Regions from separate parts of the Homo sapiens genome. Here regions 1, 3 and 4 are each linked to region 2. Evidence: promoter capture Hi-C in 16 types of primary human blood cells and fetal thymus (Javierre and others, 2016). All regions are on one chromosome and are shown on one strand. The core of a region is centred on a gene start or on the middle of the fragment in contact, and the rest is flanking DNA. Distances in the headings are between cores, read along the strand shown. Region 1 has its middle 38 kb from the start of TSPYL1. Region 2 holds the start of CALHM6 (calcium homeostasis modulator family member 6). Region 3 has its middle 19 kb from the start of TSPYL1. Region 4 overlaps RWDD1 (RWD domain containing 1).

What was found. Contacts are between HindIII fragments. The CHiCAGO score rates a contact against its expected background, and 5 or more counts as called.
Region 1: a contact is called between a fragment that was not itself captured here and the fragment with the promoter of CALHM6 in region 2, in 6 of 17 cell types (monocytes, total B cells, naive B cells and 3 more). The highest score is 13.4, in monocytes.
Region 3: a fragment that was not itself captured here is called in contact with the fragment with the promoter of CALHM6 in region 2 in 9 of 17 cell types (naive B cells, total B cells, neutrophils and 6 more); the score reaches 19.7 in naive B cells.
Region 4: a fragment that was not itself captured here is called in contact with the fragment with the promoter of CALHM6 in region 2 in 2 of 17 cell types (total B cells and naive B cells); the score reaches 5.5 in total B cells.

What each region holds. Positions count from the first base shown.
Region 1 is chr6:116,316,182-116,319,016 of GRCh38, reverse strand. It overlaps a transcript of DSE not described here. Among named protein-coding and RNA genes, the nearest start is that of TSPYL1, 38 kb to the right of the region's middle. The HindIII fragment of the contact is 1,660 bases long and covers 581-2,240 here.
Region 2 is chr6:116,459,787-116,462,624 of GRCh38, reverse strand. CALHM6 (calcium homeostasis modulator family member 6) reads right to left here and starts at 1,250. Exons shown (of 3, transcript NM_001010919.3): 1 at 1,196-1,250; 2 at 171-753. The coding sequence starts at 695. It overlaps CALHM6-AS1 (CALHM6 antisense RNA 1), which reads left to right. Exons shown (of 2, transcript NR_174951.1): 2 at 1,431-2,147. RefSeq lists a silencer at 185-264 and enhancers at 645-724, 735-844. The HindIII fragment of the contact is 9,761 bases long and covers 1-2,838 here.
Region 3 is chr6:116,298,032-116,300,731 of GRCh38, reverse strand. It overlaps a transcript of DSE not described here. Among named protein-coding and RNA genes, the nearest start is that of TSPYL1, 19 kb to the right of the region's middle. The HindIII fragment of the contact is 9,643 bases long and covers 1-2,700 here.
Region 4 is chr6:116,597,242-116,600,192 of GRCh38, reverse strand. RWDD1 (RWD domain containing 1) reads right to left here. Exons shown (of 7, transcript NM_015952.4): 7 at 2,518-2,951. Among named protein-coding and RNA genes, the nearest start is that of RSPH4A, 18 kb to the left of the region's middle. The HindIII fragment of the contact is 1,103 bases long and covers 1,035-2,137 here.

The sequences.
Region 1 (2,835 bases), core at 161-2,660, 140 kb after region 2:
AGAAGAGACTACTGAAGCATTTTTTTCAATGGTTTCATCCTAAACAGAAAAAGAGCGTTTTGGGCATTCTGTCCTCTATTTTAGTCATCTTTAAATCATATGTAAACATGTTAATACATATTTACTAGGTACACAGTTTTCTTAGACATTTCTGCTATGTGCTTTGTAGGATACGTTAGCATTATTATTGTTATTAATAAGCAAGTAGAAAAGAAGCTGATTTAATTCACTTTACTCTTTGGGTATTTCCTTCCAAAAAATATTTTTAAATTTCTCATTTTCTATTTACTTTTAACCCTTCATTTCTAAATTAGCCAGGTAATTTGATGCTGAAATTTAATTTCCTTCATTTTTAAAAAGACACGTATAGCTGAGAAACACAAACTGGAGCTTTGATATCAGTCAGATAGTTGTAAAGTTGCTAGTTTTGCCACTTACTAGTTGAGAGCCATGGGGCAAGTTAGTTTTAGTTTTGCTTTTTCAGTCTTCTTCTCTTTCTTTTTTTTTTTTCTTTTGAGATGGAATCTCACTCTGTTGCCCAGCCTGGAGCGCAGTGGTGCATCTCGGCTCACTGCAAGCTTGGCCCGGGTTCATGCCATTCTCCTGCCTCAGCCTCCCAAGTAGCTGGGACTACAGGCACCCACCACTATGCCTGGTTAATTTTTTGTATTTTTAGTAGAGACGGGGTTTCACTGTGTTAGCCAGGATGGTCTCGATCTCTTGACCTTGTGATCTGCCTGCCTTGGCCTCCCAAAGTGTTGGGATTACAGGGGTGAGCCACCACGACTGGCCCCTACTTTTCAAATGTGCATAATGACACCTAGCCCATTGGCTTGTTGTGAAGCATAATAATTATAATGCTACAAGAAATGAAATCATGAATGTCGAATGCCTCAGCATGTCATACAGCAAGTGCTCAATATATATTTGTCCACTCCTTGTTCGATCATAGAAAAACACTGAATAAAACTTGCTTTGATTAGGATAAAATGCTATTTTTATACTATTTGAGGTTTAAAAAACCCTCAAGTAGTTGTTCTGATTGTGTATAATTTCCAAGGAAATAATAAAGAACCAAACTGACCAATAATAGTAAATGACAATTATTCTTGTTTTCCTGATATCTGCTACCAGTTTCTACCACCTCTGAGCTTTGAGTGAACAACTATTATTTCAAGAGGTAGAAATAAAAAAGGACTTGTTCTGAGGTGAAAGCCCAAGTGACAAATTCACAACACTCATAAGCACAGAGTACATAAACCCAAACAATTGCACACTTTGTTTAGATACGGCAATACAATTCCTTTCATGGTCTATAATAACCAGTTGAATAAGTTTATGTTTCTCAATACTATGTGTATGTGTGTATTTGTATGTACATATACATGATACAAACAACACACACACCCCTTTTGTTTAGCATTAAACTTTTCGTAGAAGATTTAGAGACTAGCAGCATGGATTTTATGTTTTTAAATTACTAAGCATCCTTACTAAAAATTATCCACATGGGTTAGAGAGTTCAGCACAAGACTGATAATAACCAGGTTAAAGAATGTGTAAAGAGAAATTATTCTGGAAAGGACACATCTTGGACACATATCCAAGAGTAACTTCCCGGAATCTCTAGAACATCATGTCTAAATATGAGAATATTGGCCATAACAATATGCCTCCTAGATTTTGACTGCAGGGGGCAGAATTGGCTGAAAGCCCCAGCTGCTCTGTTCTGAAATCCACTGAGGTCCACATTCTCCCACAGGCTGCTCCCGGCCAATGACTGTACAACAGAAATACAAAGGCAGGCCCAATCCCATGAGATGAGTGACTCCTCTAATAGTTGGCTTTGGCTTGAGGATTCCCCAACAGCCTTGCTAAGTTTTCATGGAACTGAACAGCAGTCTGAAATGCTTACACCATTCTTCCCCTTCTCTTTCTATCTTTTCCTCAGGGTCAGACTTGCATTAAGGGCTCTTCCAGCCTCTCTGGGATCCCTTCACATTTTTTTTCTCACAGGAATTTACCCTACTAAATTTCTTGCACATTTAATGCTGAATCAGCATCTGCTTCTTGGATAATCCAGGCTAACATAAGCTCACAAAATTTCTAGTAGTAAATGAGCTAAGGTACCTGCACAGCACATTAAAAGTAGTAGTAGTAGCAGTAATAATAATAATAATAATAATAATAGTAGTAGTAGTAGTAGTAGAAGAAGAAATAAGCAAAAAGAAGAAGAAGCTTAATCAATTTCCAAGGCATTTGTTAAATATCTTCCTTTCTGTAATTAGTTTCAGGATAAGGAAGTCATCTACAGCACAACCAAATACCAATCTTTCTGGACTAGCTGTCATTTCAGGTCATTCCGCACCAAGTCCCATTATTGTCCTAGTAAAGGTTATTTCATGAGTTGAGGGGATAACGCTTTGACAAAATTATTTAAATCTTATTCATCTAGTATAATGTGGTTCATTAATTGAAAACTGGAACTAGCTCCCAAGGTCCAGTCCCAGGGTAGGTTTAGACTATCCACTTGTTAAATACCAATGTCTGAAAGGGAAGTATAGTCTTGAAATTATACTGTGGTTAAACAACTGATTTTAAATCATATAGATTATTATGAGTTTACTGCCAGTCTATAGTAAGGTCTGTAGATATCAGTCACAGGCCAGTCCTACTTAACATTTAGAATCAGCTGGAAAATCATTATAGAAAGATCCATGAACTCAACCATAAACCCAACCATGAATCAATGTCAGAAGGAAGCTCTGCTCCTACTATCTTCCATCTGCCCCTTTAAACAAAAGGTTCAATCTGAACTCCTTTTAGAATACATTT
Region 2 (2,838 bases), core at 1-2,500:
TTTTATTCAGATATTCTCTTGACGGCAAATTAGATGCAAGGAGCCATTCTAGATTTTCTTAGGGTACTGTATATCTGGAGAAAAGTCACCGATTTTTCCCTCACCCCAGCGGCCCTGAGAAAGCTCGGCCTCTCGGCTCCTCCCAAACGCCCCCAGCGCCAGCGGCAGACCTGCGACTGAGCCTTCAGATCCTTCAGGAGGTCCTGCACGTCCGACGCCTTGGCCTGGTTGCACGGCACCAGCGGCAGCTCCGCGGCGCAGCTGCGGTTGCGGCCGAGGCACAGGCGCTGCGCGAAGGCCGCGCTCCCGGTGGCCGCGCACTCGTAAAAGGCGCCCCCGAGCAGCGCCACGGCCACCCAGGTGAGGGGCGCGAGCGCGGCGGCCGCGCTGATTTGCGTGCACACCAGGGAGCCGCGCAGCGCCGATCCGCAACTCGCGCGGGCGCTGGAGCAGCATCCGGTGAGCAGGCGCCACGTGCGTGCGCTCAGCACGTAGCCCAGGAGGAAGAGCGCGAGCGCCGGCACCAGCAAGAAGACCAGGCCGTAGGGCAGGTTCCAGGCGGCGCTGCACGGGCACTGGAATGCCACGGCGGAGAAGATGCGCTCCCCGCCCGCCGTCAGCAGGGTCACCAGGCCGTAGCCCAAGGCGCTGTGGTGCTTGACGTGCAGGTCCAGCACCGCCCGAAACTTCTCCATGAGCCTCGTCCCCCGGGGCGTCGCGCACAGGCCCAGATCCTTCTGCCTCTTCGTTGTCCTGCTTGTCAAATGGTTTTGGTGGGATGGGGACCGGGGCTTTCCACTCTGCGAGAAGCAGCCTTTTTTTTTTTTTTTTTAAAGGGAAGAGGGCTTCTCAGACCTTCCTAAAGTTTCACTTTCTCATTTCAGCCACACCACCTCTGGTTAACAGAACCAGGCAAGCAAACACCCCCAGGACCTTGACTTCTCTGGCACCCACCCCATTCCAAAGGCAGAGGCACCAGTTATCTTCCTCCCCCAATTCAGGAACTCTGACAGAAGGTTGACCTTGTTCCTTTATTACCACCAATCTGACAACGAACCAGGAAACTAACCTTCTTGACCCACGGCCGCCAGTTGGAAAAACTGGGAAATACCAGATTTTCCTCTATTGCAGCCACCCTAGTTACTAAGCCAGATCACAGTAAAACCAAATAATTATCAAAAAACTGATTACTTACGGGAAACATTATTCAAGGACAAATTTCTGGTTCCTCTTCCATAAGCTAAATCAGCAAAGTCCAGCTCAAGTTCTGGTACTTCTATGATGGGCGGCACCCTTTCCATCTCCCTACCGGACAGAGCCACCAGCCTAGTTCACACTGACTCTTCTCTCCTCTGCCTGATCTCCTTCAGGACATTAGACCAAATATACTGTATTGATTTACTCGTCAATACAATGTTCTTTTCTTTCAGATATGTCATAACACTGTCAATGCCTGGAGGAGAGTAAAATTCTGACTCTGACCACCAAGCTGATCTGCACAGAAGGGGATACATGATTATTCAAAGAATGCTAGTTGAACCCAAAATTTCAAACTGCAGCTACATCTATCTAATGTTGTTTCCTCCACCTTCAGTTTTCTCAAGCAGCGTTGTTCTGACACAAACACTGTAACCACTTTTGTGATATTGAGCCTTACTCTGTGTGACTCCAGACTGAGCTGAGGTGTGCTTGAAAGAACATGGGCTTTGAAGTCAAGTGCATCTTGTCTGTGGTGTGTTTAACAAGTATGCCCCTCTGAGACACAGCATCCTTATTTGTAAAAGAAGGATAATAGTGCCCACTTTTCAAGATTACTGACATGAGTAGATTGAGTAGCATATGTAAAGTGCCTTTACATATAGGATATGTCTGTTAAATGAATGATCAGTGTGAGAGTTTTCCCCTTAAAATGCAATTTGGGGAATAGACAACAAATAATTACATTGTACATAACCTAAGAATCTTGATGAATACTGAATTTTGAATTTTAAACGAGGATCAATTCAGTGGATAGTATTAAGTGACTCAATGACTCTGCTACCTTAAGAGAATTGGTGTACACCTTAGCTGTCTGCTTCACCACAAGGAGAGTATCTGGATATGGAGCTTGGGTGGGCAGTTCACAATGAAATGGTTCTTATTGGTGCCCATCCACCAGGCTTGCCTTATTTTATCTGGAAAGAATAGGTAGCCCATGGAACCAAGTGAATTTTTAGAGAATGGACAAGAAATGTATTATTCTTTTCTTAGTCCAACTTGCCTTCTTAACTACTCCCTCTCCAACACCACCAGCAGGGTGCCTAGCGTAGTGCCAAAAGCTGTCATTCCATAGTGATGTGGTAAATAGACATCTTTTTTCTATGTGTTTAGGGGCCAGCCCCAGATGAGGGTCTTCATGGTCATGCAGGAAAGTTGGGGCCCTCTTCTCTGAGATTAGACCAGATACTGCTAGGCTTCCTGTCAACTTGCAGCAAAGTTGCGTGTTTGAAGCGAATCACTTCTGCTCTGACTGTTATCTTTGTAATTTGTCATCTCCCAAGATAAATTTCTTCCCCTGTGCCTTGAGTAACTCTCCTCTTACTGCTGGACTCTTCTTCACCTCTACCATAATACTCTAAGATGTGTCCTCTCTCGTCCACCCTTTCCCATATTCCATCATGCAGAAACATCACTATATCCACAACCTTTGTGCAGATGGCTTTATCCAAATCTCCCCTAACCGAAACCTAATAAAAATGCATCCTTCTGTCTTCTTGAGTGAGATTAATTTATTCTCCCACATCTCTCAAACCAAGAGGGATGGCTGGCATTTTCCTGGTTACCTGCTGATAGCCATAC
Region 3 (2,700 bases), core at 79-2,578, 160 kb after region 2:
ATTCATTTATTTTGGACTCAGATTCAAAGGGTGAAAGAAAGGGGGGAAGGACAATAGTTCTTTGACACTAGCACTGGTAACTTAGCAAAAGGCCAAAAATGTCCCCATTAGACTTGATTGCCTGAGGCAGAAGTCAGGAAAATAATTATGCCAAGTAGATCTTGAGCAGAAGGAGAAAGATAATATATGTCATGAAGCACATCAAGCCATTACCAAATATTATGCATAGTCCCTGTGAATTCTAAAAATTCCCAGCTCTTCAATACTGTGGAATTTTATCAACAAGCAGGATAAAATGATATATTCAGAAATTTAAGGAACTTGTGCATTTGAAGCGAGGCTTTTCTTCTTTCATTTTTGCATTTGTATGAAAATAATACTCAAATATGGAAGGAAATGAGTATTGTACTCATCAGAACTATTTAGTATTCCAAGAAATAGTAACAATCACCTAAAATGTACTATTTGAAACTTACTATTCGGACATGACTCTGTTAGTTCCTATTATTCCTCTAATTGTAACTTTGGGTTCTAAAGTACTATGGCAAACTCTGGAAGTACAAATTCAGTAGGTTGGGGCAAAAATAAAATCTCTTTCTGGAATATGTGAAGGTCTGTCTTTTCTTTATTCTCTTACTACTATATACATCTTCCTAAGAAAAGTTGACAGTTTTTCTGGACTGAGATTTATGAATAACTGCCAAATTTAAAAACGGTTTGAATAAAAGCAAATAATTGGCAGACCAACAGTTTATTAAAATTCCACAACTATATTTCCATCTAATGTTGCATGTTATCCTTGCCCACAGCCAGTCACTGCCAAAACACCAGCAATCTCAGAAAATAGTAAAATGTGTTAGGTAACATTCTTTTGGACCATATTGATTTTACTTTCTCAGTTTCAATTCACAGTACACTGTAGAATTAACCATTTCAACATTAATAACTGTTAAAGATGTGCCCTAAAAAGTTATCTTGGCCTCTTAGGTGACAAAATAAAAAGTTGTGAATAGTATTGTTCAAACTTTAGAGATTCTATGTGGTACAAGTTGAGTGCAGAGGAATGTCCATCATCTATCTCTATCTCTTTATCTATACCTATACCTACCTACCTACATACATACATATACACACACATATACATACATATATATGTATGTGTGTGTGTGTGTGTATGTGTATATATATATATATATATATATATATATATATATATATATATATATAAAAATAATTCAAGAAGCCTTTCAGGATGAGAATTTATTTACATTTCTAGTTCACCATACCTTTGGGGCACTTTCTTCCCTTATAGCTTTCTAAACTCATAATTAATTATAGATAACTTCTAATTGGCTCAAATTATTCTTAAAACCATTAAACAGAGAAAGTGCTCATTGTTCTTCAACATTCAGTCCTCTCTTTTTTCCCAAAATTTTAGGTAAGCACAAAACTACATTAACTAGAGACAAATTTCCCTCTGTTTCTCTTGCAAACCAAGTTTTGCCAGTGGCATGAGAGTGGACACAACTGTGCAATTTCTAGGTCACATCAGAAAACTGCTTGCTTTCACTTCCTCTTTTCCCATACTTATTACTTAATAATATTTAATGTACATTGGCTACTTTATGCAAATTGATAACATCCTGAGAATAGAAAAGTTAGTAAAAATTGTTTTCATGTTCAACTTGTTTCTAAACTAAGAGAGTTAAGTAAAATCACAAATAGCTAGAAACAAGGTAAAACAAGTATCATCATAGATATGCACACAATGCCTACGGGTTCAAAAGAACAAGATAATGTATCTAGCCTGAGGTATCCAAAACGATTTTTTATTTAGGAGTTAATTATTAAGAATTGTGTTAATGAATGGCTAGTGTAGAAGAGGATGGCTCCGTTTTCCATGTCCCACCTATCAGAATGCAGAAAAGTCAAAGGCTTTGTGTGAGTTTCAACACTGGAGCTGAGTTAGCTAACAGTATTACATGAACACTATATGTCAGATAATGTGTTTAATGCTTTATATGTTGAGTTTTCTATAGCTGCTGTAAAACATTATCACACACGTAGTGACTTTAAAGGGCACAAATTTATTATCTTACAGTTCTGGAAATGAGAAGTCTAAAATGTGTTTCATGGGGTTAAACTGAAGGTATCAGAAGGGCTACATTTCTTTCTGGAACCTCTAGAGGGTAATCCATTTCCTTGACCTTTCTAGCTTCTAGATGCTGCCCACATGCCTTGGCTAGTGGCCCCGTCCTCTGTCTTCAAAACTAACAATGGCTGGTTGAGTTCTTCACACACTGTGTCACTCTGATCTCTTCTGCCTCCCTTTTTTACTTTAAAGAACACTTGTGATTACATTGGGCTCACTTGACTAATCTAGGACAATATCCCTATCTCAAGGTCAGCTGATGAGAAACCGTAATTCCACCTGCAACCTTAATTCCCCCTTGCTATGTAACAGCATATTCACAGGTTATGAAGACTAGAACATGGACATCTTTCCTGGGGGGAGGGCATTATTCTGCCTACCACATGTGGATAGCCTCATTTAATCTTCACAACAGATTTATAGATTTGGTACTGGCATTAACTCTACAGATAAGCAATGAGGACACAGAAATGTTAATCAATTTGACTATAATCACCAAGTCAATAAATGACAATTCAGGAATTAAAACTCAAATATTTCTTACCCCA
Region 4 (2,951 bases), core at 337-2,836, 140 kb before region 2:
ATTAATGCCATTTGGGAAGCATCTAATCAAAATAAACCATTTCTGAGTCTTTGAGCTCAGTATTCTATATTTTAAATCTGGTGCAAATTACAGGAATATAAGATTATGACTGTCTTTTTACCTTTTGAGTTAAGACCAACTAACATATCTGAGTTACCATATCTTTGGCAGTTTCAATGTCCTCTATATAACCTGTCCTCAACATTCTAACCTCATAACTTATTAATATCATTAAATAACTATTATTTTTGCCCCACTTCAGCCATCTCCTACCTCAAAGAACCACTCTTGAATTGTCATTATCTGAAAGAACTTCTCAGAAACCTAAGTCTCCCAGAATTCAAATTTTCTCTTTTCCTTATTTTCCATTAGGAATAATCTTTGATTTTAAAGAGATATGTAGCTTCCATTTCTCCCCACATAAATGCTTCCTTTGACTTATTTTTTCATCCAGCTTAAATCCCAAGATACAACAGTTTAAATATGTTCCCATGCATCTTCAACTTGATTTCATTTATTCATCCAATAAATTACTACATGAATAATTATTTCAGATTTCAATGATTATTTCATCCAATAATTATTTAGTATAGATTATCTACAAAGCAGTAAATATAAAGTCAAATAAAACACAGCTCCTGCCCTCCAACTGGTCATTTCAAGCACTTCTTTTGAGAAGACTCATTGGGCCATCCCAATCCCAGGTTAACTTAGATGTCCCTCCTTTGTGACCCTGGAGCATCCTGTAAGTTTTCATTCAATACTGTATTTATGTGCCCGGAAATATGAGAATACCTCAAGAAGACAGACTACATCTCTTGTCTCTTATCATCCCACTGGCTAGCATGTGCGCATAAGGTTTGGCTGAAAACAATTTGACTAAATGCAATTTGACCAAATGCATAAAGCAATCTGGCTAATAGGTAAATTTTAGGCAGAATGGTATTGTAAATAAATATTTGTTACTGGTTTTAAAATCTGTAAAATACTGGTATACTGGGGATAGAGTGTGTGTATGGCAATTTCCCAAAGCTTCGTGTATCTTTAAGTATTTTTATGCATATTTATATTTCTAAATTGGCAGAGGGACGCTCCTTTTGTCACATTTTCGTTTATCCCAACCTATATATCTGACAAATTGTCTATTTTAAAAATTACAGCGGCCAGGTGTGGTGGCTTATGCCTGTAATCCCTAGCACTTTGGGAGGCTGAGGCATGTGGATTGCTTGAGCTCAGGAGTTCAAGACCACCCTGAGCAATATGGCGAAACCTCACCTCTACAAAAAATACAAACAAGAATAATAATAATAATAATTAGCCAGGTGTGGTGGCGCATGCCTGTAGTCCCAGCTAATTTGGGGGCTAAGGTGGGAGGATGGCTTGAGCACAGGAGGTCAAGGCTGCAGTGAGCTGAGATCACGCTACTGCATTCCAGCCTGGGTGACAAAATGAGACCCTATCTCAAAAAAATAAAATAAAAGTTACAGTACGTTACAAAACAGTAGTACAAAAGGACTTATTCATGTATACACTCAACAAGTATTTACAGACTGCCTGCTCTCTGCTAGGCATTATTCTCATAGTAACAATAAACTGGGGAACAGACAGACAAGGTCCATCATCACGTGTACATTCTGGTGGATCCCACTTTTGAACAGAAATGACTAGAAAAGCCTCTGACTAGAAACTTATGCAACCAGATACCAATATCATACATCTTTAAGTTGAAGGATTTATACGTTTTCTAATGTACTTTTCCATTTTGATTTTCCTACATAAATGGGCACTGTCAAACAATAAGAAATAGGAAATAAATAGGAAACTGGCCATACTCAAACAACAAAAATGCTATTAAAAATCTGAGATTTAGGATTGTTGAAAGGTTTCTCTTTTAAATAAACCCAAATCAATTTTCAGTTCCATCCTTCTACTCAAAGGTGTATTTGAAGAACTGATATATTATCTTATAATAATAAAAGCAGGAATATCAGTGATCTGGCAATTTTATTGGTGTTTTTAAGGTATAGTTATAATAAGAAAAATTTTAATTTATAAATGACATTGATAAAATAGCAGGTGAATAATTTTTCAATAATATATGTGCTAGGAAGGGGTTAGTTTCCATAGAATATAAGCTTGATATATAATTGAAATGACCTTTGCTCCCATCCGACTTCCTTGGACTTCCACAATATGGCTCCAACATGACTTTCTAGTCCTATTTTCTGGTAGGCACCTAACAACTATTGTTCTCCAGGAAATCTGACTGAAAGAATTATAAATATAATTTAAATATATGTATATTATATATATATAATATAATATAAACAAATAAAACTAATTTGTCGAAAGCAATTTGGAAATTGGCCTAAAGCTACTGAGAGAACGGTGGCAAATATGACTTTGATTGAAATGCCAAGTTCATCAAAACTGTAATTTCCCAATCACTAATTTTGTTGTTGTGAAGTTTATTTTAGTATTGGTATAAGAGTGTATCATGAGGTAGCTTTGCAACCCTTAGTCTTTGGCAAATATTTTATTTTTACCTGTTTTTTTAAAAAAATTTAAACTTAAAACACCTTTTATGTTTCCAATTTATTTGCAGCCAATAATCCCATGATGCATTGTTCATTATGTAAAAATTGAAAACAATCTAAATATTCAACAGTAAAGGATTTTCAGAGCTAAATACCCTTCATCTTTATGCAGGGAGATGAAGAAGTCAAGAAAACTAATGGAGACTACTCTTTAAAGGAGAACAGCTGCAAAGGCAGAGATAGGCAATAGCTATAAGAGGAAGGTCTAGGAAGTATTTTTTATGATAAGTAAATATGTAGTAGAAATAGCCAAAAGGTGGAAGAACAAAACTAAATATAACAATTATTTAAAAATTCATCATGTTAATTATGTAAGGAAATTAAAAAGCTTTGGTGGACTGAGTAGAACCTCTT